4 separate regions of the Homo sapiens genome follow, and regions 2, 3 and 4 are each linked to region 1. Evidence: promoter capture Hi-C in 16 types of primary human blood cells and fetal thymus (Javierre and others, 2016). All regions are on one chromosome and are shown on one strand. Each heading gives the region's core, a stretch centred on a gene start or on the middle of the fragment in contact. The rest is flanking DNA. Distances are from core to core; before and after follow the strand shown. Region 1 holds the start of QRICH2 (glutamine rich 2). Region 2 overlaps RNF157 (ring finger protein 157). Region 3 overlaps PRCD (photoreceptor disc component). Region 4 overlaps UBE2O (ubiquitin conjugating enzyme E2 O).

The links. Contacts are between HindIII fragments. The CHiCAGO score rates a contact against its expected background, and 5 or more counts as called.
Region 2: a contact is called between a fragment that was not itself captured here and the fragment with the promoter of QRICH2 in region 1, in 2 of 17 cell types (M1 macrophages and M0 macrophages). The highest score is 8.6, in M1 macrophages.
Region 3: a contact is called between a fragment that was not itself captured here and the fragment with the promoter of QRICH2 in region 1, in 3 of 17 cell types (naive B cells, erythroblasts and total B cells). The highest score is 8.4, in naive B cells.
Region 4: a contact is called between a fragment that was not itself captured here and the fragment with the promoter of QRICH2 in region 1, in 4 of 17 cell types (M1 macrophages, M2 macrophages, M0 macrophages and 1 more). The highest score is 8.0, in M1 macrophages.

What each region holds. Positions count from the first base shown.
Region 1 is chr17:76,306,574-76,312,636 of GRCh38, forward strand. It overlaps QRICH2 (glutamine rich 2), which reads right to left and starts at 1,703. Exons shown (of 19, transcript NM_001388453.1): 1 at 892-1,703. The coding sequence starts at 1,425. It overlaps PRPSAP1 (phosphoribosyl pyrophosphate synthetase associated protein 1), which reads right to left. Exons shown (of 10, transcript NM_002766.3): 10 at 2,905-5,127. The coding sequence ends at 4,969. The HindIII fragment of the contact is 8,448 bases long and covers 1-5,195 here.
Region 2 is chr17:76,155,784-76,162,083 of GRCh38, forward strand. RNF157 (ring finger protein 157) reads right to left here. Exons shown (of 19, transcript NM_052916.3): 10 at 6,060-6,219; 11 at 5,752-5,864; 12 at 3,552-3,790; 13 at 2,610-2,718; 14 at 427-538. Among named protein-coding and RNA genes, the nearest start is that of FOXJ1, 18 kb to the left of the region's middle. The HindIII fragment of the contact is 3,973 bases long and covers 6-3,978 here.
Region 3 is chr17:76,543,649-76,550,292 of GRCh38, forward strand. PRCD (photoreceptor disc component) reads left to right here. Exons shown (of 5, transcript NM_001077620.3): 5 at 155-1,728. It also overlaps a transcript of CYGB not described here. Among named protein-coding and RNA genes, the nearest start is that of PRCD, 6.9 kb to the left of the region's middle. RefSeq lists an enhancer at 3,662-4,165. The HindIII fragment of the contact is 237 bases long and covers 3,060-3,296 here.
Region 4 is chr17:76,436,566-76,442,717 of GRCh38, forward strand. The region is part of intron 1 of UBE2O (ubiquitin conjugating enzyme E2 O); the gene reads right to left. Among named protein-coding and RNA genes, the nearest start is that of UBE2O, 14 kb to the right of the region's middle. RefSeq lists enhancers at 162-663, 4,486-5,003. The HindIII fragment of the contact is 534 bases long and covers 1,512-2,045 here.

The DNA.
Region 1 (6,063 bases), core at 453-2,952:
TCCCTCCAAGAAAACAAAAGTCCAGTTGAAGGCAGGGCTCAGTGGCTCACGCCTGTAATGCCCAGCACTTTGGGAGGCCGAGGCGGGCAGATCACTTGAGGTCAGGAGTTTGAGACCAGCCCCGCCAACATGGTGAAACTCCTTCTCTACTAAAAACACAAATATTAGCCAGGCGGGGTGGCGCGCGCCTATAATCCCAGCTACTCGGGAGGCTGAGGCAGGAGAATCGCTTGAGTCTGGGAGGCGGAAGTTGCAGTGAGCCGAGACTGCACCACTGCATTTCAGCCTGGGTGATAGAGTGAGACTCCTTCTCAAAAAAAAAAAAAGTCCAAGTGAAACGGTCCCCTGCCTGCTGTGGCTTGTGTCATGGCCATAGGAAGCTGAGGTCCAACTCTCCATCCTGACTCCCCTTCTCTGGGAGCCTTTGTCCTCAACACGTATCTCTTCATGTCCTTATTCATTTTAAAAAGGGAATTCACTCTAAGAATCTTCTGAGAAGTTGCCGGCCCCACTCTGAGCCAGCTCTGGGTCCTTGGATGTCTGATAAGTGGTGGGCGAACCTCTCCCGTAAACAGGGGCTAGGAAGGAGGGGGTGGGATGGGGCCACTACACTTAGGAGGTGGGGTCCCCAGGCCCCTCCAGCTCGGGGAGGCCCTAGGCCTTTTGGTGGCGTTCTTTTAGGATTTTCACGTCTTGCAGCCCCGTGGACTGCAAGGTAGAGCATGGGCCACTCTATTTAGCCAGTCGCACTGAGGTCTGGCACCTCCTCGGTCCCCATCCCCTCCGTCCCCACCACCGCTCACCCCTCCAGGGTGGTGGGGACTCGGCTAGGCCTGGAGGGCGGCCTGGAGGAGGCAGACGGCCTGCGCGTGCCTCCGTGTGCGTGCTCACCCTGGCAAAGCTGAGCTCCTCGGCGGCGTCCTTCATGATACTCCCAGTCCGCACCCTATCGAACGCCCGCACGCCCACCTCCTGCTCCTCCGGCCACTCTAGCGCGGCCAGGTCAAGCCCGCTGGCCTGGGAGAAGTGCTGCACGTGCGTGGCGATGCCCTGCACCTGGCCGTCCACACGCTTGAGCTGCTTGCTCAGGTCCTCCACCTGGCCGCCCAGGTCCTTCACTTGGCTCTCCAGCGCTGACGAAGGCGCCTGGCCCACGCCCCTGCGCTTCTCCCGGGGCGCCCCCTTGGGCACCTCCTTGGGCGCGGGCAGGTGCGGGATGCTGAACGAGCTCCGGACGGACTGCAGCGAGCGGCTGGGCTCGGGCGACGAGGGCTGGAAGTCGATCCGGGTATTTTGGAGGTCGAGGTTCTTGAGCATGGCCACGATGAGCGTGTGCAGGGCCGTGAAGTTGACGGCGCCCACCTCTGGCGTGCCGATGGAGAGGTCCGCCAGCTCCCGGAGGGAGACCGTGGTCGCGGGCGGCATCGTGGCTGTCAGGAGCTGTGCGCCGCCGCGGGGCGCCGGCCAACCACTTCCCGCTCACTGCACGCCGCGCCTTGGGGCCTTTCGGGGGCCCTGCGAGGTCCTCGGGGCGCCCCTGCCCCGGGTCCGGCCGAGTCACTGGACAGAGCTCCTGCCTCCAGGGAATCTGCGCCTCCGCTCCCCGGCGGGGTCCGCGATGGCCACCCCTCCGCTGTCTGTCGCTGGCCTCGGGTCCCCGAGCTGGAGCCCTGGACTCCCAGTCCCCGCGCCGGCGGACGTTTGAAACGTGGGGGCCCCCGCGTGCCCTGAAGATTCCACGTAACAACACGCCTCCCTGCGAGCCACGGGGGCGGGGGGAAGTAAAGGCCACCACAAGGATCACAAGGGGAGCCTTGGCAACGGGCTGAGGAGGCCTCCTAAGATCCAGCTAGACTCCATCCATCCCCTTAACCTAGAAAGGCCAGGATTCACTCACTCTTGGCGGGGCCACATAAGGAAAGACTTGAGGGTTTCCTGGCAACCATGCTTTGTGTCATCAGCTGCGTCCATTCCAGAGTGGTGGCCCCATGTCTATGGCCCCATGTCTAAGGGATGCAGTCCTGGGGCCCTGGTCCCCTCAGACAGTCCACATATTTTGTTCAATCAAAGGTGAAGCAACTTGGAAAAGACAACCCACTCACTATTCAGGCAGTTCCAATTAGCCACTAGATGACTAACTGGTGGCTAATTGTCCCTTTTCTGTGCTGCCATAATTTTTTTTTTACTTTTGAGAGGGAGTCTTGCTCTGTCGCCCAGGCTGTAGTGCAATGGCACGATCTCGGCTCACTGCAACCTCTGCCTCCCGGGTTGACATGATTCTCCTGCCTCAGCCTCCCGAGTAGCTGGGATTACAGATGCGTGGTACCATGCCCGGCTAATTTTTTGTATTTTTAGCAGAGACGGGGTTTCACTATGTTGGCCAGGCTGGTCTTGAACTCCCGACCTCAAGTGATCGACCCACCTCGGCCTCCCAAAGTGCTGGGATTACAGGTGTAAGCCACCGCGCCCAGCCTGCCATAAATTAATTGATCTCAAAAAAACGGCCAGGCTTGGTGGCTCACACCTGTAATCCCAGCACTTTGGGAGGCCGAGGCGGGTGGATCACCTGAGGTAAGGGGTTCAAGGCCAGCCTAGCCAACATAGTGAAACCCCTCTGCTAAAAATACAAAAAATTAGCCGGGCATGGTACCGCGCATCTGTAATCCCAGCTACTCGGGAGGCTGAGGCAGGAGAATCGCGTCAACCCGGGAGGCAGAGGTTGCAGTGAGCCAAGATCGCACCACTGCACCCCAGCCTGGGCGACAGTGCAAGACTCTGTCTCAAAAAAAAAAAAAAAGAAAAGAAAAGAAACCACTCACCTGGTCAAGCGCCTGTGCTTGAGCTCATTACAAAGCAGGATTAAACAGCACGAGACAAATCTGGTGTTAACAATTGAGACATGACTTCCCCATACAAGATTCTTCCCAAAAACGTATAAATAAAACTTCCTAACAGAAGCACAGCAAGGCTACTTAAAGAGAACCTATGAATGTGTGCCATGCATGGCCAGCCTCCTCCGTGAGCTCTGCATCTGCAGATTTAACCAACCACGACTGAACACGTACAGATTCCTGTCATGATTCTCTAAATAATACAGCATGACCACCATCTACACAGGATATTGCAGTAGGTATTACAAGTCATCCAGGATGTGCATAGCTTATATGCAGATACTACACCATTTTCTATCAGGGACTTGCACATCCATGGGCAGGAGGTTGAGTCCTGGAACCAATCACCCATGGATTGTAAGGAATAACTGTACTATTTTAACTACTGTTCAAGTTCAGATTTTTCACTTCAGCCTGAGAGGTACTGTTTATTTAATTGAAGGATTTTCGATCATCATTATATTCCAATAACTTGGGACACAGTAGGCCTTTAAGGGGTTATCAAAATAACTAGTTCTTTGCAGTCTTTTTTTTTTTTTGAGATGGAATCTTGCTCTGTCACTTGGGCTGGAGTGCAGTGGCACAATCTCAGCTCACTGCAATCTCTGCCTCTTGGGTTCAACCAATTAATTCTCCTGCCTCAGCCTCCCGAGTAGCTGGGATTACAGGCGTGCACCCCCTCCCCCAACACCCGGCTAATTTTTGTATTTTTAGTAGGGACAGGGTTTCACCATATTGGCCAGGCTGGTCTCAAACTCCTGACCTCAAGTGATCTGCCCACCTCGGCCTCCCAAAGTGCTGGGATTACAGGCGTGAGCCATGATGCCTGGCCTCTTTGTAGTCTTTTTATGCTTTTAACTTAGCTAGGCTAATTTTTGTATTTTTAGTAGAGACGGGGTTTTGCCATGTTGGCCAGGCTGGTCTCAAACTCCTGACCTCAGGTGATCTACCTGCCTCGGCCTCCCAAAGTGCAGGGATTACAGGCATAAGACACGATCCCTGGCCTGTTTTTTTTTTTTGAGACAGGGTGTTGCTCTGTCACCCAGGATGGATGGCAGTGGTACAATCATAGTTCACTGCAGCTTCAACCTCCTTGGCTCAGGCAATCCTCCCACCTCAGCCTCCCAAGGTAGCTGGAACTACAGGCACATGCTACCAATGCCTGGCTAATTTTTGTATTTTTTGTAGACATGGGGGTTTCGCCATGTTTCCCAGGCTGGTCTGAAACTCCTGGGCTCAAGCAATCCTCCTTGCCTCAGCCTCCCAAAGTACTCAGATTATAGGTGTGAGCCACCACACCTAGACTTTTTTTTTTTTTTTTTAAAGATTTAAAATACAGTATTCAACAAGGATTTAGCTTCAACACTTAGGAAGAGGGTGGAACCTGGGAAAGTGTTTGTGTCCAGCCACAGACCTGACTGCTGTTCTGTATCCATGGTCTTCTGCTGTCTAATGAAAAGACTAGCAAGACAACAAATTATTTTATTTGCAACTTCAGAGCCACTCAGATACCCAGAGGTGGGATGCTATTTTCTAATCTGACATCCTTGGAAGATGTAACAACATGAATGCTTCATTTTTCAATGGCTGTAGGCATAACAATTTCTGAAAGAAAAATACGATTCTCTATAAAAGACTTGAAGTTGATTTGGGAGAGGCCAACTGGATAGTAATAGGGCCACAGGCGCTCAGCTTCCCTAACCAGGTTCAACATCAATACCTCCATTTCCCTGGAGCTGAAACAACTAAATGAACATTATAGAGTTAAGACTTTATGTGCCTTTAACTCCTCTTTAGTATCAATAAGATTTTCAGATTATTTTTAAGAAAGCAGCTAGAACTTTTAAGGAACAGGGCTGATGACAGCAGACATGTAAGGCCATGTTATGATATTTATCCATTAGCTCTGTCTTCTTCCTGACTCTTTTAATCCCTCCTCCCCATCAATCCGGGCAAAAGAAGATATCTAACTCCAGGCTGTTTCGAGTCCTCCCTTGCAAGGAAACACTGTATCACTCATGGCACTGCTTTTTCCATGTTTCCCTCAGGAGGTCCAGGGTCGAGACCCTCGTGAAAGCTAGTCATCCACAGTGATGTTTCGGAAAAGGTAGGCCATGGACTCTCCATTGTGGATTCTCCGAATGGCTTCAGAAAGAATCAAACTGATATCCACAGTCTTTATCTTGGGACATTGCAGCTTCTGAACCTCATGAGGGACAGTATTCGTCACCACCACCTAGTCACACAGTGATGGAAAACAAACGCTGTTACTGAAGTCTGTTCTCCAAGCTGGTTACACAGAAAAGCTTATCTAACATTGAGTTCCCACAGCCTAAGTTCCAAACTACAAAACCTTGTTCCACCGAGTATAGTTTTTATAAACCAAAATTAACTAATTTTATGCAAAGGAAAAGTTACATGGCCTCAGAACACAAGACAAAAATCTTAGGAATGGCATGGTCTCCATGCAGAAACACAGTGAGCCCCAGTGCTATGCAAAACTCTCAGATCATAAGGGAAGAATTCCAGCCTCAAGAGAAATGCTCCTAGGGTGTCAAATTAAAGTACCCAAGCAAACCGTTATGCAAATAGACATATACAGACCCTCAACATAACTCTCAACTTATGACAGGGTTATGTCTGGATAAACGCATCATTATAAGTTGAAAATATTTTAAGTAGAAAATGCATTTAGGCCGGGCACAGTGGCTCATGCTTGTAATCCTAGCACTTTGGGAGGCCGAGGCAGGTGGATCACCTGAGGTCAGGAGTTTGAGACCAGCCTGGCCAACATGGTGAAACCCCGTTTCTAAGAAAAACACAAAAATTAGGCCTGGTGGCCGGCGCGTGTAATCCCAGTTACTTGGGAGACTGAGACAGGAGAATCGTTTGAACCCGGGAGGCAGAGGTTGCAGTGAGCCGAGATTGCCACACTGCACTCCCAGCCTAGGCAACAGAGCAAGATTCCATCTCAAAAAAAAAAAAAAGCATTTAATACGCCTAACCTACTAAACATCATTAACTTGGCCTAGCCCTACCTTAAACATGCCCAGAACAGTTACATTAGACTGCAGGTGGCAAAATCATCTAGGGCAAAGGCTTTCATTTTATAATAAAAGCGATTATTTTAAAATAAAGTGTCTCAAGTAATTTATCGAATACTATACATTAC
Region 2 (6,300 bases), core at 742-3,241, 150 kb before region 1:
CTGCAAGCTTTCTGGGGAGCAGAGCCCTCTCCCTGCATTCAGGCATTGAGGAGTGAAGTGGCCGTATCTTGCCCTCCCCTAAAAGTGGTTTTAGGTTTATGGTTTTCCAAAATTCTGCTCCTTTATATTTTAGAGCTCAGAACTCAGCCTTGGGGACAAGACATTTGCTTTTCCCTGTCATAATGCTAAAGGAAACCTCATTACAGGAGGACTGGGGCTGAGAGAATTAACACCCCACTAGCTACAGGCAAGCCTGCTATCCCATGGTAGGAAAGCAAGTCCTCTTCCCTCTCAAGCCAGGGCCTACTTGTCATGCAGTACAGGTATTAGCTTGCCACTCCCATGTCCCTTCCCGGAAGAAGCACCAGGACACTGTGGGCTGGGTAAGGGGGAAGGACATGCAGCCACTCCCCGCTCCTTATGTACCTTCTGGGGAGGAAATAGTGGATGACAGAGGCGTCCCTGTGCAAGACGACTGGTCAATAGCTCCAGATGACGACAAGGTGAGATTCTCACTTTCTGGAGTCACACCACATTCCTGGGGGTTGTGGGGGGACACAACAGGACATGGAGCAAGCGCCAGTCACCTGTGCTGGAGGAAGGGGTCAGGGCGGAGGTCTGGGTAGAGATGAGGAGGAAAGGCGACACTGGGAGGGACTGAGTGGCATGCAGAGGCCGCAGCTTCTCTCTTCCGTCCTCACTTCAGCCCAAGCCTGGAATGACTGCCTCCCAGGGGAGGCGCACACTTCAGTCAACACCTCCTGCCCAGGGCACAGCATCTGCTGCGGCCATACAAAGACTGCAGCTCGGGTGACACAGGTCACCCTGCAGCTGTGACATGGGGACACCCCAGGTTTCCCCAGGATTATGATCAGCTTTCCTTCTGCGGCAAAAGCATACAAAGCCAGCAGAGGACTTCCTGCCTGCAGGGTATCTCCACGTGGACCCCAGTTAATTCCTGCCCAGCTGCTTTCTGATACAAACACCACCTTGCTCCCCAGCCTGCTGCTCCTCCCACACCCCCACCTCCGATCCCAGCCCCGACCTGTCAGGCATCTGGGTGCACAGCCTCACCCGTCCAAGATGGATGCAAAGTTCTACGAACTGTATCTCCATAATCCCTTCCCTTCCCTCCAGGCGCTCCTCTTTTGTCTTAGTTCACGCAGTCCTTCTTTTTTTTTTCACTTTTTTTTTTTGAGATGGAGTCTCGCTCTGTTGCCCAGCCCAGGCTGGAGTGCAGTGGTGCGGTCTTGGCTCACTGCAACCCCTGCCTCCTGGGTTCAAGCGATTCTCCTGCCTCAGCCTCCCGAGTAGCTGGGACTACAGGTGCATGCCACCACACCTGGCTAATTTTTTGTATTTTTAGTAGAGACGGGGTTTCACCATGTTAGCCAGGATGGTCTCGATCTCCTGACCTCGTGATCCGCCCGCCTCGGCCTCCCAAAGTGCCGGGATTCCAGGCGTGAGCCTCCGCGCCCGGCCAGTCACACAGTCCTTCTTGCCTGGGCTACTGAAACCCTCTCCTGGCTGGGTCTGTCTCCCGTCTAGTCCAGGCTGCACACTGCGGTCGGGTGGGCCTTTGGGGTGTGAAGCACTCACTGTGCCCCTGGCTTGCTCCGAGCCCCGACTTCCTGCTCTGTGCCTTTGCATGCATCGTCTTCTCCACATGGATGTTTCTCTCACCTCTTTCTCCATGTCTAAAAAACTTCCAGGTTTAGCTAAAATGCTATTCCTCCATAACACATTTTCTGATTTCCTCCACTTACAATGATCTTTTCCATCTCTGACACAGCAATTTATCGTCTCTGTTTTGGGCATACTTCTTTTTTATAAAATTTACTTAGTCATTGAACAAATACTTACTGAGCAACAACAACGTGCCAGGCACATGCTATTCCCATGTATATGTCCTGTCCCAGCCAGACCTGAGCACCTAAGGGCAGGGACCACTTTATTTACCTTCCTGTGCCCTGCTGTATCTAGCTCAGTGCCCTACAGAGAGAAGCTGCATAAACCTTTGTTAAGTGAGGTCTCTGTGGGACGCACAGAGTAGAAAATTCCAGCCTTCTCTTCCATTCTTCCACATGGGCCTCCCGACACCCCCCACTTACCCCCAGGACTTTCTCCTTGCTGTTCCCAGACCTAGGGCCCTCTCTCCTCGTATATCTGCATAGCTAGCTCTACCACTTCCCTTGGTCTTGGCTCCTGGACCGCTTTTTAAGAATGGCAGCCCCCACTTCCAGCCGTGACACTCCCTTCCCACATGTCACACATGCTGATCCACAGCACCATCAGGCACACATGTATTTTTTTACCTATTGTCTTTTGTGCCCCCCACCCCAGATAGCAAGAATATAAATGCTACAAGGGCAGGGACTTTTGTAGTGTCCCAGCTACTATCCTCAGCATATAGCACAGTGCCTGGCAAATAATACAGGCTGCATACACTGTTGAATGCATGAATCCAGTGAAACCTTTGCCACTGCCTCAGAGGGTGCTGACAAGGTGTTTGATGAGTGAATGAGAGCAGAGGGACCTGATGAGGCATGCAGGTAGGAGGGAAGTCCCTGGAGTACAACACCCAAGAAGAGGAGAGGAATGTCAATTACCTCTCCGAGATGCTGAACCGACGGTCTCTGAGAGAGCTGTGTCTCCGACTCGCTGCAGGAATGCTCATCTTCCTCTTCATGCAGCACGGAAGAGTTTTGGGAAGTGGATCTGTAGGAGTCCAGTGGAAAAGCAGCTATATCCAACGTCCATTTAAAGAACAGAACTTACTGCAAGGGGAGCTGAGGGGAAAACCCAAATATTTTTTGCTTGTTTATTTTTTGAGACAGCATCTCATTATGTTTCCCAGGCTGGGCTGGGACTCCTGGGCTTCAGCGATCCTCTTGTTGACGCTTTAACAGAGGAGGAGTACAGCCTCCTGAGTAGCCGAGTAGGTCTGGGCTAACTTGCCTGGCTCGAAACCCAAATCTTAAGTAGGACTAGGGAAATAGAACCAGAGAGGGATGGAGACCTCTTTTGGGTGTCAGAAGCGCTAAGTTTTACTTTTAGCTCCTCTGATGACTTGCTATCTAAACTTGGGAAAAACCACTGCCATTTACAGGGTCTCAATATTTTCATCTGTAAAATACCCTCCCCTTTACTCTGCCACAGAAACCTTGTCATGATTTGTGCCTAGCTGGATTTAGATGTTTAAGAGATACGGATCACAAGGTTCCTTCAGTCTTCGGACTAAGCAATGCTCCCAGGGGCCTAGAAGGCCCTATCCACAGTGTTCAACATCCTCTTCCCTATATCCCATCCCCTATCCTTGAAAGAAAAAAAGAATACATAAGAGATTTGTCTCATCAGAGTTTTCTTAAGTACCTACATACCATCTTATTTTCATCTCTTAATGGATGGGATAACCTTCACGCAAGCAGCTCTGGGAACAGCCCAGAGGGTTACTCTGCCCTAAGTCCCCAGGATGTGGGCCAGCACCAAGGAGGGATGAAGCATTTCATCAAGGATTCCGGGGGCAACAGTGTGGAGCACTGGCTACTCACTTGGAGAGACTCTTTTTGAGTTTGAGTCCCTGACTGCTGCTGTCAGACAGGCGGTCAAGAGGCGAGATCGTCCTGACGGGGGGCAGGTGGCCATCACTGCCATATGAAGGGAGCATTCCTGAGAGGTGGCCATCTCCAAGCACGTGAAGTGGAGGAACTGCTGGGGACGGGGTGAGGGGCCCGTTGAGGGCCTCCAGAAGAGATACTACTTCATAGCCTGGTGGAATATTCTCTGAGGACTAGGGGAATCAGAGACAGGTTGAAAAATTAATTAGGTCCTTTTTGTTTTATGACGTGATCATGCTACTTCTCTACACTGAAAAAAATGTTTTATATCTGTTCTTGGGGGGGTCTGGTAAGAACAACTGTACTAGAGGCAGAGATAAAATATCAAAGAATCACACACTGTAGATCCTGCTTATTGGTAAGCTTTTTCTTAATAATCTCTATTTTTTTTCTGATTATAATGGAAATTTGGAAAATACATAAAAGTAAAAGTAAGGAAAAAAAATCACCAGTAATCAAATCACCCAAAGTTACTTTTGTTAGCATTCTGGTGTCTCTTCTTCCCATTTTTTTTCTGTGTACTATTTACACAGTTTTGATCAATCTGTAAATAACAATTTTATATTCTGCTTATTTTATTATACTTTCCTCTTTAAAAAAATAGAGATGGGATCTCACTATGTTGCCCAGGCTGGTCTTGAGCTCCTGGTCTCAATTGATCCTCCCACCATGGCCTCCCAAAGTGCTAGGATTACAGATGTAAGCCACCATGCCTGGCCAGAACATAAATATTTTCCTTTGTTTCTGAAGCCTCTTTATATATGTCCCCTTCTCATAGATCCCCTAAGTTTTCTAACTATTCTCCTAGTGCTGGGAATCTAGTTGTGTCTAACACATCCTATTGTAAACAAGTTTTGATGAACATCCTTGAATGCCTTTTTTTCAAATTATGTTCTTGTTATTAAATTATTAGCTCTTAGATGATGAGGTATAAATGTTTTTAAGGCCTTGATATATACTGCTGTTTTCTGCTGTTTTTTTTTTCAGTGCCTTTTCTAGTTACACTCCTATAAGTAATACAGAAGACCTATTCTGACTGCTTCCCCGAAAGCAGGGAGAATCGCTAAAAAGAAAAGTTTTTAAAATTTGAAAGTTGGAAAATGGTATTCTCATATTTGCATATCATTGATTTTTAATGTGGTTGAACTTTTTAAAAAATTCTATGTTGAGTGTGTTTTGTTTATGCCCTTTGCCCTTTTATCTACTGTTTTATTCAATATGAACTATGGCAAAGACATTAGCTTTTCCTCTGATACACACATTGTAAATAGTTTTTAAAAAAACACTATTTGTTGTCTAACTTTTAATTTTGGTTACCTTTTAGACCTCTGAAGTGCTAAACTTTTTAGGTGGTAAAATGTATGGTTCTTGCTTTCAAGCTTAGAGAATCCTTTCCAATCCAAAGTCAACTAAATAATCATCTATAATTTATTCTAGATTTTGAATGTTTTGCTTGGTTTGCTGTAATGTTTGTTTGGTTTGATGCTCTTAATATAGTTAACTAGTTACTCCAGCTGGAATTTATTTGGTAAGGAGTAAAGTGCTAAACTAATTTTTCCTCCTGAAATAGCTAACTAATTATCCCAATACCATTCACTAAATAATAATCTCTCCCAGCAGTGCGTTAGTCTAAAGAAAGACAGTATCTGCTGCTCTCTAACTGCAAAGCTTTGAGGTTTCACCCTAATATCAGCACTTACACTAGGAAACTGAAGTCAGTTACTTTATCTCAGGCACTGAGGCCACAAAACAGGATAAAGAAAAACAGTTACTTTCTTCGAGGATTCAAATAAAGATAATAAATTGTATTTAAATCCAAAATAATCGTCCCATTGTTTCTGCCTGGGGGAGTTCAAGTTGAACCTCACTGGAGTGAAACTGCAAGCAGATGGCTCTAGGAATGGTAAACATTAACTGGACACCAAGTTCCCAAGGAGGAAAAGGGAGGTTTTCAGTATTCAATTTTCCACAGTAATAAGTTGGTTTTAACGCATGCTCTCAGCCGGCTTGCTAAATACTGCAGCATGCCCTGGTCTAATTCCTTGCTGCAATGCCACGTAGAGAAGCATGAAAAGTTTAAAAAAGCCAATGAGGCATTTGCTTCAGAGGGGCCGTGGTTCCGAGCCCAACTTACTGGATGCTCTTCAGAGTCAGATGTCTGGGATGAGATGATGGGGTTAAAGCTGGTTGGGGACAAGGGGCCCAATTTTTTCCTCATGGCTCGGATCTGAAGCAGTGCCCGGAAGGCTGTGAAGGAGAAAACAGGCAATCAGGACATCCTGATACAGGATTAAGAATGAACAAGAGCCCAGACAGAAACCATGATCCCTCCCAGCGCGCATCCGTTTGTCAGATCCAGCAGCAGCACATGCTTCAGTGTTTTGTAAATGTCCTCTTGTCCCCTCTCCCACCCACCAGTCCCCCTGCCGCTCTGGGGCTTACGCAGTCGGCAGATGGGGCAGTTGTTGGCCTGGTAGCGCAGCGTGTCTGCACAGGTGTTACAGAGGCAGAGGTGGCGACAGGGCAGAATCAAGGTGTCCCGGACATCCGAGAGACACACCACACACTCGGCACTGTTATCACTCACTTCGTCTTCAGCCACCTGGCCAAGGAGAAAGAAATGTAGCCAATGGCACAAAGCCCTTCCTGTCCCATACTTTACTGACAAGGCAGCGTGGCTGAA
Region 3 (6,644 bases), core at 1,928-4,427, 240 kb after region 1:
CCTAACAGTTTGCAGGGGTTGGGGGTGGTTTGCTGGCCTGGCCAACTGCCTGTCAGCCCAGGAGCTATTCTGTTAAGCCGCCACTTGTGGTCCGAGGTGCTGGTGTCGGTTTGCCACAGTGGCACTCGCTTTTGTGTCATTTGCCTTTCCCCAGTTCCCAGAGCTCATCCTGTCACTGGCTGCTCTGCTGAAATTATCAATAAGAAATGCCAGTTGGATCTGTGACATGTCTGCCTGCAGCTGGATGGGAGCAACGGACAGCTTGTCCTCCGAATGTGTTTTCTGTATGTGTGCAAGCGCGTGTGTTCCAAACGGGCAGTAGCGTGTGGGAAGGAAAAAGCCTGACACTTGTTTTTATCAATTTGCTGATGCTCAGTCCCGGCGGCTGCCTCCTTTGCCCCCAGCTGCTCTGCCATTTCTCTCTTTTCAATCCTGCATGATCCTGAGCAGAGATAAAAGCAGATTTCCGCTTCTGCTCCCAGATCCAGGAGCAGACCCTGCAGGCAGCTGCTCCTGATGTCTCACAGCTATTAGTCTTCAAAAACCCCCCGTGCCTCTGTGCACACGCGTCTCTCCTCCCCAGCCAGCCCCCCTCCCAGCCCAGCGGCGATGTCTCTGCCTGGCTGGCCCGTGCCCTTGACTTCCAGGCAGTAGAAGATGGAGTTCTCTAGACAGCAGCACTTCAGCCGCCACTCTGCCTCTGAAGGGAAGGAAGGGAAAGGGTGAGGGATGCCGCAGAGCAGAGGGAACCGCTGGGGAGGCGCTCAGGGTGGGGGAGGAGGTGCACCCCGCTGGGGAGGGCCTGCTGGTACCTCGGGGAGCCTGGCTGGGGTGTGTGCGAAGGCAGTTCTGTGGGAGCCTCTCAAAGTAGGGCAGGCAGGAGGCAGGGGGAAAGTCACACTAGGGAAGGAGCCTGCAGAGGCAAAGCCAGAGCGCCAGCCTGACCCAGGCCGTGAGCCCGTGATCGCCTGTCTCAGCTCCTGTCAGCCTGTCTCTCTCTTTGGAGGCATCGGCCTTCCTGGTGACAGGCCTGTCAGGCTGAGGGCCAGAGGGCACTGTTCCCGGGACCCAGTCTGTGTTCCCCGATCCTATCTGCATTTATTCTCTATTTGCCATGTTCCTGTCACCTCATCCTTGCTGCCATTTCCGAGTTGCTCATCTCCTTCCACTGGTCTGAGGAATTGTCAGGCCAAGGTCATGGAGCTGGCTCACGGCCCAGACGCACTTCCCCAGGGCAGCGCCCCTCCACGCCACTGTTCCGAGAACCTGCGCAGGAGGTGGTGGCTGCTCCAGGGATCCATCCAGAGGAAGGGCGGGAAAAAGAGAGGAAGGGGCTGCTGGCGGCCAGCGGGGCTGTGGCTGCCTGGGCTTGGAGGTTGCCTGGGCAGCTGGGGTGCCATGTGGGCCGGGTGGGGGGGCTGTCTCCCCCAGGGAGCAGGCTGGCTTTGGTGGGAGCAGATTGTGTTTACACCTTCCCCGCACACCCAGCCCACGCTCGCCTCTTATTCCCGGGGCCTCTCCCACCCCTGGGCTCTCTGCGCAGTCTGCACATTTGCAGCTCCTGCTGCAGAAAGTTACCTCTCTCAGCCTAGAGCTCCCCACAGAAGGCTCCTGGGACCCGGGTGCCCCTTCCTTGGCCCACTGGCTCCCATCACAGGGCTTAGTGTGAAGCTCAGGGCAAGGGTGGACCTTTAAATGGGGGAATTAAATCCTGACTATGACACTGTCCCCACTGAGGCTGAGTCCTTTTTCATCCCTTTCCTTGCAAAGAGCCGCTGCTTGGGAATGGGAGCAGGAGTGCTCAGGGGCTTGGGAGAGGGCAGATAAAGGGCAGCTAGAGAGGGAGAGCTGAGCCAAAGGGTGGGGTCCCTTCTGGTCTAGGGTGCTGGCTACTGTGAAATAACAAGAGTCCAAGAGCAAGGTGTCCAGAGTCAGAGCTCCTGGGTTTGAACCTTGTTCCACCAGCACATCCTACCTCTGTGGCCTGGGTAAGTTTCTGAACACCTCTGTGCCTCAGTTTCTTTAGCTGTAGGATGGAGATCCTACTGGTATCTGTCTCTTAGAGTTGTAAGGGTTGATTAGATAACGTGTGGAAGATGCTTAGCATGTTGGGTAAGTGTCCCATATATGTGAGCTGGCACAATCCGGTTTGAACTGTAAATTACTGAACAGTGGTAGATTCAGGACGGCTAGAGTTCCTCACATCCTCACTCTCTGGTCCTTCCTGCCGTCTCTCCACATACACAGAGCTGGGCGACCGGTAGTTCTGCAACAGATCAGAGGATGGCAGAGGGTGGCATTGCTGGGGTGGGGAAGCCCCCTGTAAGCCTGTACTGGAGAAGACCACCACTGCCTCTCTGTGCCCAGAACCATGTCCCAACCTCCAGTGGTGACCTCGACCTGGACAGCGCCACTCCCAGCTGGCTCTGCTTCCGGAATGAACCTCAGCTCCTTGACAAGACGGGAGGCGCTGCCCTGCTGTGGTACCTTCCTCCGTGTGAATGCTAATATCTCTGCTGGGGGAGCCTGAGTGACGGGGAAAGGCTGCTTGGAGCTGCAGGGCGGCTGAGGGCAGCAACCAGGAGCAGGGAGGTGCTGCTCCTGCAACTGAGGCTCAGAGCGGCTGCCAGTCTCTCCTGGAGACTGGAGCATGACCAGGGAACTAATGAGGCGGTGGGGGTGTGGTGGGAGCCAGGGAAGTAGCCACTGCAGCTGTGGCTGTCCACTGTCACCCTGGGGTGTAGATGTCACCTTGGGGAGTACCCACCCATTCCAAGTGTGCGGTTGTGTGTGTGTGTGGTTTGTGTGTGTGTGTGTGTGTGTGCGCGCAGTCCTGGGCAAGGGCAAACAGTACAGGTGGTGGGCCAAGACTAGATGGGTAGGGCACAGTGCCCACTATGAGACAGGCACAATGGCGAGAGAGCAAACCCTGCTGGTTCCTCAGGCTCCCGTAGCCTCTCTGTGGGGGGCCTCACTGTTAGGAAGAAGCCCAAGACCTAGAGCTAGAGGAAGATAATGCTTCTTTGTGAACCTCAGAAGAACAGTTTGGTTCGCACGGAAGCTTATGTTAACATAATGATGATACTAATCGTATGATTAATAACCACTAACATGCATTGGGCGCTTACTATGTGCTAGGCACTGTGCCAGCTGCTGTATTTTACGCACTGTTTCATTTATGCGGCAGGAACTGTTATCATTTATCCAATAAGGAAAGTGAGGTTCACAGAACTTGCTCAAGGTCACTCATAGCTGGCAGTGAAGCCAGGACCTGAGCCTGGGAAATCTGACACCAAAGCTTGGGATAGAGGGGGCCCAAGTCTCGAGTTGGGGGCCGTGAGGAAATTTTGATTGTGACCTGTCTACAAGGCACAAGGAATGGAGCTGTGGTCCCGCCCAGCCTGCCTTTGCAAGTGGGCTGGTGTTGGCCAGGGTCATTGCCACCAATCTGTCTTCAGGAACTCACATTCAAGGGCAGACCAGACTCTAGGCCCTGAGAGGCTGGTTCTTGCCTGCCAGGTGAGGGGGAGAGGAGAGCTGCCCCTTTAGGACCCCTCAGTCTTCCTCAGGAAGGATGTGGTGGCCTCTGGCAGGGATGACAGACAGCGAGGTCATCACCCACAGTCACTGCAACTGCCACTCTGTTGCCTCCTTCAGCCAGGGGCAGGGCCCTGGGGAGAGGACAGGATGGCAGCCAGCAGCCCAGCTGGAGATGCGGAGCCTGGTGAGGAAGGTTGTTTTGATTTGTTTTTGCAGGGGGAGGGTGCAGGCCATGGAGACCAAGGAGGTGGCTTTCAGGGGGATCCGCTGACAGTGGGAAGCCAGTCCTTGTGCCTAAGGAGCACAGACCCTCTCTGTGTGACACATGTGCCCCCTAGTGGGGATGATGACTGTAGTGGGGGACTGAGAAAATTTTTAAAAATTTACTAACAGACTCAGCCTGTGCACCTGGGGAGGAGAGGCCAATCCTGTCCCTATGTGAACACACACACATTCACACACACACACACACACATATTCACACACAGAGACACCCACATTCACACACACAGACACACACACACAGAGACACATACATTCACACACACACATACACAAACACAGTCATATACCTATACAAACATATAATACACACACAGACATACACACATTCACAGAGACACACATTCACACACACACACACAACACACATTCACACACACACAGACATACACATATACATATTCACACACATACACATACACACAGACACACATAACACATTCACACACACATACACATATACAAACATATTCACACACATATACACACACATACACATAAACATACACATACATACACATTCACACACACATTCACACATACACATGCATACACAGACATACACATATACGAACATTCACACACATACACACAGACATACATGTACACACACAAATAAAACAGACACACAGAAACACACACACATAATCACAGATACACATGCATACACAGACATACACATTCACACATACACACACACATATACACCGACACATACACATTTACACACATACAGACATATACACTTATAGACACACATAGCATACACATACACACAGTCACACACACAGATACACATAAACATACATACACACAGAGAGACATACACATACACAAATACACACAGTATCATATGCAGAGGCAGAAGCCATTTGAACTAAGCATTAAAATAAATTAATGTGTTCATTTGGTCATTTATTTAACAAGCGTGTCCTGGGAACCTGCAATGTACAAACCCTGTATCAGGTGTCAGGAGTGACACTCGAGGAGAGACAGACCCTGCCCTGCTGGTTGGTCCTATAGGAAGGCCCCAGCCTCGGTGGCCTAGTTCTGCCAGCCCAACCCTGCCTGTCCCTGTGACCTTTAGTTCTCTGGACCTCGGTTTCCTCATTTGATAAACATTTGTCAAGCCCAGGTGGGCTGGAGTGAGGACGCAGAGGACTAATGATCTCCTCAGGAAAAGAACAGTTTAGTAAAATGAAGGGGATGGACCAGAAGCTCTCTGGGGGCCCCACCGACTTTCCCAATCGAAAGCAACTGTAATGAACTGTGTCTGGAGTGCTGTGTGCCAGGCACTGTGGATCCAGAAACGGATTAAGACCTTCTGCCACAAACAACCAGAAAACTGGGCAAGATATAAGCAGCAGACACTTGACAACAGGCAGCACACAGGACAGTGACCCCATGACTGCCTCAGCTTCTGCCTGGAGACAGTTCCCTGACTGTGCCTTGGGGAGGGGAAACCCAAGCGGACCACAGTGGCTTTGCTAAGGTGAGGAGGAGACAGAATCAGAGGTCAAGACAGTGTGAGATTCATAAGGATATACACACAGATCAATGGAATCCAAAAACAGATGCAGAAAGGCAATCCAATGGAGAAAGAAAGGTCCTTTCAACAGGATACAAAAAGCACTAACCAGAAAAGAAAAATCAATACACTGGACTTTATCAAAATTAAACCTCTGCTCTTGGAAAGACTAGGAGTAAATATTTGCCAAACAAAAATCTGAGAAAGGACTTGTATCCGGAATACATAAAGAACTTTTACAATTCGATAATAAGATGGCCCAATAAAAAAGTGGGGAAAGATTTTAATAGACACTACAACAAAAAATAAACATACAGCTAAAATACATAGAAAGTTGTTCGACATGCGGCTGGGCGCGGTGGCTCACGCCTGTAATACCAGCACTTTGGGAAAGAAGAAAGATACTCCACATGCAAATCAAAAGCCCAATGACATACCACTACATGCCTACCAGAGTGGTTACAGCTGAAGGCCGACCATAGTAAGTACTGTCCAAGATGTCACCCTGTCATACACGGCTGGGGACTGGTGAAGTGTTACAACCACTTGGGAAACCAGCATGGTGGTTCCTTATAAAGTTATCCCAGAGGAATGAAAACTTACATCCACAAAAAAGACTGCAAAGATGTTCATGGCAGCTTTATTACTAACAGCTCCAAACTGGAAACAACCCAAATATTCCTCGACGTGGGAACAGATAAACACACTGAGATATATAAAGATAGAATAATACTCAGCAATGAAAAGGAAATGAACTGCTGATGCCGACGACATGGGTAAATTGAGAGAAGCCAGACACAAAAGAGCCCCTACTGTGTGATGATGACATGTACACGGAATTCTAGAACAGGCAGAACCGACTGATAGTGACAGAAGGCATCAGTGGTTGACTGGGGCCGGGGTTAGATATTGTGGGGGTTGACTGCAAGGGTAAGAAGGTTTTTGTTTTTTTGTTTGTTTTTTTTTCTTTTTTTTGAGATGGAGTCTCACTTTGTCACCCAGGCTGGAGTGCAGTGGCATGATCTTGGCTCACTGCAACCTCCACCTCCTGAGTTCAAGCAATTCTCCTGCCTCAGCCTCCTGAGTAGTAGGGACTACCAGCTTACACTACCACGCCCAGCTGATGTTTGTATTTTTAGTAGAGACGGGGTTTCATCATATTGGCCAGGCTGGTCTTGAACTCCTGACCTCAAGTGATCCACCCGCCTCGGCCTCCCAAAGTGGTGGGATTACAGGTGTGAGCCACCGTGCCCAGCCTAGAAGGTTCTTTTTTTTTTTTTGAGATGGAGTTTTG
Region 4 (6,152 bases), core at 529-3,028, 130 kb after region 1:
GACGATGCCTCCAGGCCCCTGCCCTGCACGCTGTCCCTCGCCTGCTGCTGCTCTGGTGTCCAGCCACCACCTCTCTACTCAAAAGTGCTATCCAAGGTTCCTCACAACTCCCAAACTGCCTCTCTTTACAAAGCATCCTACTTGACCCCTTGCCCTGACATCAAAAGCCACTGGCTAGCACCCTCCTTCTGAACAAAATTCAAAAAAGGTAACGCCTCTTAGGACAGAGTATAAAATGGGGATTAGTGAAAGATCAACGAGGAGCATTTATTTCAACATTTAAAAGGCAATTATGCTAGGCTGGGTGCAGTGGCTCATGCCTTTGAGAGGTCAAGGTGGGCAGATCACTTGAGGTCAGCAGTTCCAGACCAGCCTGGCCAACATGTTGAAACCATTTCTACTAAAAATGCAAAACAAACAACAACAACAAAACAATTAGCTGGCATGGTGGTGGGCACCCATAATCCTAGCTGCTCAGGAGGCTGAGGCAGGAGAATCGCCTGAACCTAGGAGGTAGAGGTTGCAGTGAGCTGAGATCCCACCACTGTACTCCAGCCTGGGCAACAAAGTGAGACTCCATCTTTAAAAAAAAAAAAAAAAGGTGGCAGGGCACAGTGGCTCACTCCGGTAATCCCAGCACTTTGGGAGGCCAAGGCAGGCGGATCACGAGGTCAGGAGATCGAGACCATCCTGGCTAACACGGTGAAACCCCGTCTCTACTAAAAATACACAAAATTAGCCGGGCGTGGTGGCGGGCACCTGTAGTCCCAGCTACTCAGGAGCCTGAGGCAGGAGAATGGCATGAACCTGGGAGGCGGAGCTTGCAGTGAGCCAAGATCATGCCACTGCACTCCAGCCTGGGCGACAGAGCGAGATTCCATCTCAAAAAAAAAAAAAAAGAAAAAGAAAAAAAAAGGCAATTATGTTAAATGCAATGTAGTATCCTGGATTGGATCCTGGAAAAGAAAACTAATCCAAATAAAAGTGTATGGTTTAGATAACAGTATGTGGCTGATGTTAATATCTTTTTTGCGAGATGCAGTCTCACCACAATGCCCAGGCTGGCCTTGAACTCCTGGACCCAAGCGATCCTCCCTCTGGCCTCAACCTCCTGAGTAGCTTGGATTACAGGCACGTGCCACTGTGCCTGGCTCAATGTCAATTTTTTTACTTTCGACAAATATATATCATGATATGTAAGATGTGAACATTAGGGAAAACTGGGTGAAGGGGATACGAGGACTTTCTGTATGATCTTTGAAACTGTTCTATAAATCTAAAAAATGTTTGTTTAGAAACTGCAATTATGAGGTTATGAAATAGGACAGCAATAAGAATTAAAGGAAGATGGGGGACAGGCTAAATACACGCTTCGAAGGGAGGTGTCTCTCGTTGCCTGGATGCCTCCAGGCATCTAATTTGCAATGTGTTCAAAACGGAATCTCCCTCCCCACTCCTCTGTCCACACTGCTATTACCGGCAGGACCAGCCACCTGGCCATGCTCATGAGAAGCTTGAGTCTCTGCCACGCTTCCCTCTTCTTACTGCCTTTTGGTAGGTGACCACATGTCTACATCCACTGCTTTTAGAAAAGGTTTTTCTAAAAGCTATAAAACTTAATGGTTTGAGGAGTTATTATTTAATTGAGACAGAGTTTCAGTGGGGAATGATGAAAAGTTCTGGGGGTGGATGGTGGGGATGGTTGCACAACAATGGGAATGTACTTAATGGCACTGAACTGTTTATTTAAAAATGGTTAAAATGGTAAATTTTGTTATGCATATTTTACTACAATTAAAAAAGAAAAACTTAAAGGCTCCTCGTCGCTCTTCTGATCACCTCAAAGCCCTGGCACACTAATGTCCCTACTCCTGCTCTGTCTCCCACCTCCCCCACTACACCCCGGCTCAGCTGTACGTGCAAGGCTGTGAAACACATGCTTTACCTGTTATTCCTCAAACGTCCTTCACACCTTTGCGCCCCATCTGAGAAACCTTCTCCAACCACCTCACCTTTCTCTCTACCTCACTACTCTAATAATTGAAAGCTTTATTACTGTTCTCTTAGGTTCGATAGATTTCAGATTTTACTGGGGGGTTAGGTACTAAGTCAAATTGAACATCATTAAAATTATCCTTGAAAAATCCCTTAAATCCATCAGTAAGACCAACATAACCAGTGTTTCCTCTTGCACTGGAACAGATCACTGCTTCTTCCACTGAATACGGAATGAAGATGTTTGTTCACACTTCCGGGTCATTTTGTGTGAGAAGTCAGCACCTCTAGCACTCCACGCCATGCATGCATAGGTGACGCCATGCACACCGAGGGCACAGAGGACACAACTCATCTGCCCCATAAAATCCTCCTAACTGGCCTCCAGGCTTCCTAGCTCCCCACATTCCACCTTGTAAACTGCCGCCAAATCACCCATTGTAAACTCTGATGTAAGTCCTCTTTATGTAAAAAACAAATCCCAACTCCTGAGTCAGTCATCCAAAGACCTGCACACACACAGCAAGCATGACACCAGTGGCCTTTCCAGGGGCAGCTGACGGCGTGGTTTGGAGGCGCTTGCCTGGCTTTAGCCCAAGCCTTTCTGCTCACTGCCTTAACCTCTCCTCCTCTGTGAAGTAAGAACACCTACTTCACGGGGTTCTCCAGTGACTGTGCCTAGAACGCGGCAGGTGCCAACAAACCTTTGTTGTTATCGTTATTTACAGTCCTGTGCAGCCTCGCCTGCCAGCACTCTCTCACCTGACTTCTTCCACCCCACCTCTAGCTCAGTGGTCCTCAAAATATGGCCCAGGGATCCCTGAAACCCTTTCAGGAGGTCCAAAGTCAAAAATTTTCTATAACAAGACCAAGACGTTATTTGCCTTTTTTCCTCTCATCCTCTCCAAAGTCTGCAGTGGAATTTTCCAGAGGCTACATGATGTGTGATGACGTCACTGCTCTGATGGCCAATAGAATGTATGCCCAGGCATTCTTGGTTTTTAAGTTTGTTTTCTTAAATGGTAGATGTTAATAGAAACAACCCATACAAATAAAAGCTCACAAAGCTAAAAAATTATTGTGGTCCTCAATAATTTTTAAGTTAAAGGAGTTCTGAGGCCTAAGTCTGAAACCACTGAAATGAACTTCCTGCCTCTCTTGCCTTTATGCGCACTGGACTTCCCGCCCAGGACGCCCTGCCCTCCACTGCTGCTATTCCAAGCTCTTATCTTTCAAGAGTGAACTCAAAAGGCACCTCCATGACAGCATCTCCTAATGCTCCCCACCACATCCTTCAGCATCTCAACTGTGTCCTGCAGGTGGAACTAGGCTCTCGCTCCCTTATGTGCATCAGTCATTCACCCACTAATTCCACTCATTCGCATGTGTGCAATCTGCCATTTCCCAAGTGCTCACTAAACAAATCTCTCCTAGCACCTACTTTGGGCCAGTCACTGAGGATATAGCAGTGACAGAGATGCTTCTGTGCTTCTCTTACCTTCCGGCTGGGGACAGTAAACAGGACATGAAGTAGTATAATCTCAGGTAATGCCAGGTGCTATGAGGGAAAAAAGCTGAGTAGGAGATCACAGCGATGGTTCTCTCTCCTATCTAAGTCTCTGAAGCAGTGCTACCCAATCCAGTAGCCACTATGGTAAAAAGAACGCACAGTCTCTCATTAGTACTTATCATATGAGTTATATGTTGATATAATATTTTGAATACATTGGGTTAAGTAAAATATATTAAAATTAATTTCATCTCTTTGTTTTTTTTACTTTGAGACAGGGTCTTGCTCTGTTGCCTAGGCTTAAGGGCAATGGGTCGCACGATCACGGCCCATTGCCACCTCGACCGCCAGGACTCAAGCGATCCTCTCACCTCAGCCTACTGAGTAGTTGGGACTACAGGCGTAAGCTGCCACGCTAAGATGATTTCTGTACTTTTTGAAGAGATGGGGTTTCATCATGTTGCCCAGGCTGGTCTCGAACTCCTGGCCTCAAGTGATCCGCCTGGCTTGGCCTCCCAAAGTGTTGGGATTATAGCCATGAGCCACCATGCCTGGCCTCTATTTACTTTTTTCAGCTGTGGCTCACATTGTATCTCTATTTTTCAGGATCCTTCCAGAGCAGAGGTGGGAAAACTACAGCCTGCAGGTCATGTCCAGCCTACTGCCTGTTTCTTAAAATTTTATTGGAACATGACCATGCCCATTCATTTGCTTACTGCCTCTGAATGCTTTTGTGCTATAATGGCAAAGCTGAGTTGTTGTGAAGGAGACAGTATAGCCTGCAACACTAGGACATTTATCATCTGGCCCTTTACAGAAAGTTTGGCTGGCCCCTTATCTAGAGGGCAGGGCCTGTGTGGGGGTATCTCTCTCCCCACAGCACCCAGCACAGTGCAGGGGGCACCCGTGTAGTCAGTGAAGAGAACCTGCATTCGGGCAGCACAAACTGGCCTAAGTTTGAATTTGGGTTGGCCTCCCACTTGCTATGTGGCCTTGGTGAGTTATAAGCTTTCTCTGGGTTTCAGTCTTTCCTTTTCTAAAATGGGGCACTGGCCACTTTAAGGGAAGTGAGATGACACAGGTAAAGTGTGAGTTAACATGCCTGGCTCACAGCAGGAATCCATTGACACTGGCTGGATAAAAGACAGCAATTTCATTAAAATGCTGAATAATCATTCTCCTCTTGGATTGGGTGTGTTATACTCAAAACAACTACCATATTTACATCCTAAAATGAAATGAAATCAAATGAAACTTCTTAGCAACAGCAGTGCATTAATAATAACCACCAGCAAGCAATGGGGAGGAAGAAAGAGGCAAGCCTTTCTAACACTAAAGCACTGGCGGATGATGAGTCCGCCTCATCCCTTTCCTGCCCCTCCTGCAGCCCACCTTTGGACAATTCCCGGTTCATTAACACTGGCACTAGAAGAATAAGCAGAGGGGAGAGAAAAAGCCTCGAACCAAAGACGTACTAAAACTGAACCCATTGACATCAACGAGGTTTGGAAGGGCCCATATAAGTGCAATTCAAAAGACAGTCCCAGCCAGCAGCATCAATGTCACTGGGAGTTTGTTAGACACGCAGATTCTTCAGCCCAATGGAATTAGGACAATTTGCATTAGGAGACCCTAGGTGATGGCATGTGGCATTCACCTTGGAAAAGTGCTGGATTAGAATCCATTTATTCATGCTCTCTTCACTTCCCCCTCCCCCTCCACTGATAAACAGGGGTGGTTATATCTACTTTCAATAGATGGTTCCTGACTCCTTCAAAGTAATAGGCCTGGCATAGCCACTGCAACTCCAGGCCCCGCCCCCAAGGGTCTTGGTGCAGGCAGAGTGCATAGCCTAAGCTGCGTTCCTGATTCATTTGCAGTCGGGTGGGGCATTCTTTTTCCAATAGAGAGCCTCGTTCGTACTTAGCCATCCTCCTAAGGTGAGGACTGGGTGCTGATAACCATTCAGGAAACCCACGTGTGTGGAATCTGCCATTTGTCAAGTGCTTTAGGCGGGGTTCTTACAGGGGAAATGCAGCCAGAAGCAGCTTCATTTCGACCACAGGTGACACCAGCTCTAGCTAGCTCTAGCCTAGTCCACAATGCACGTAGTCTGCCTGGGGAGCCCGCGACGGAAGTTGCCAAAGTAGTAACTACAATATGGTGTATTCTGATTAATCTGCTCTTCCTAGTATTAGGATGCCCATACGTCCCAGTCCTGGAGTAATTATTCATAGTACTCTCAAAAGAACCCAACTTGGGCAATAAATTACTGTACATGGTCAACACACCTAGTACGGGGGGTGGGAGACAGAGTGGTCTAGTAAGGGGCCCATACAGCTCCAGCACAGACCACAGGGCATCTGGAAGAAGACTAAGAATACTATTTGTAGTAAGTGGGAGGGAGCAAACTGGTCATTCATGAAGATGTTTCCCAAGAGTCTGCATGTGCGTGATAGCACACAAGCTTTAGGATTTGCTGTCTCTGTTTCTCAAGGAGCTTCCCATCCAGGAGAGAATGTGGGTGTGCCATGGGGCATGAGAGGAAGGGAACGGCACAATTGAGTTGGGGAAAAGCAGTCAGATTGGCTGGAATCAACTGAAGAGGCAGGAGATAGAGCAGGATGTGTAGGTGAGGGGCCCTGAA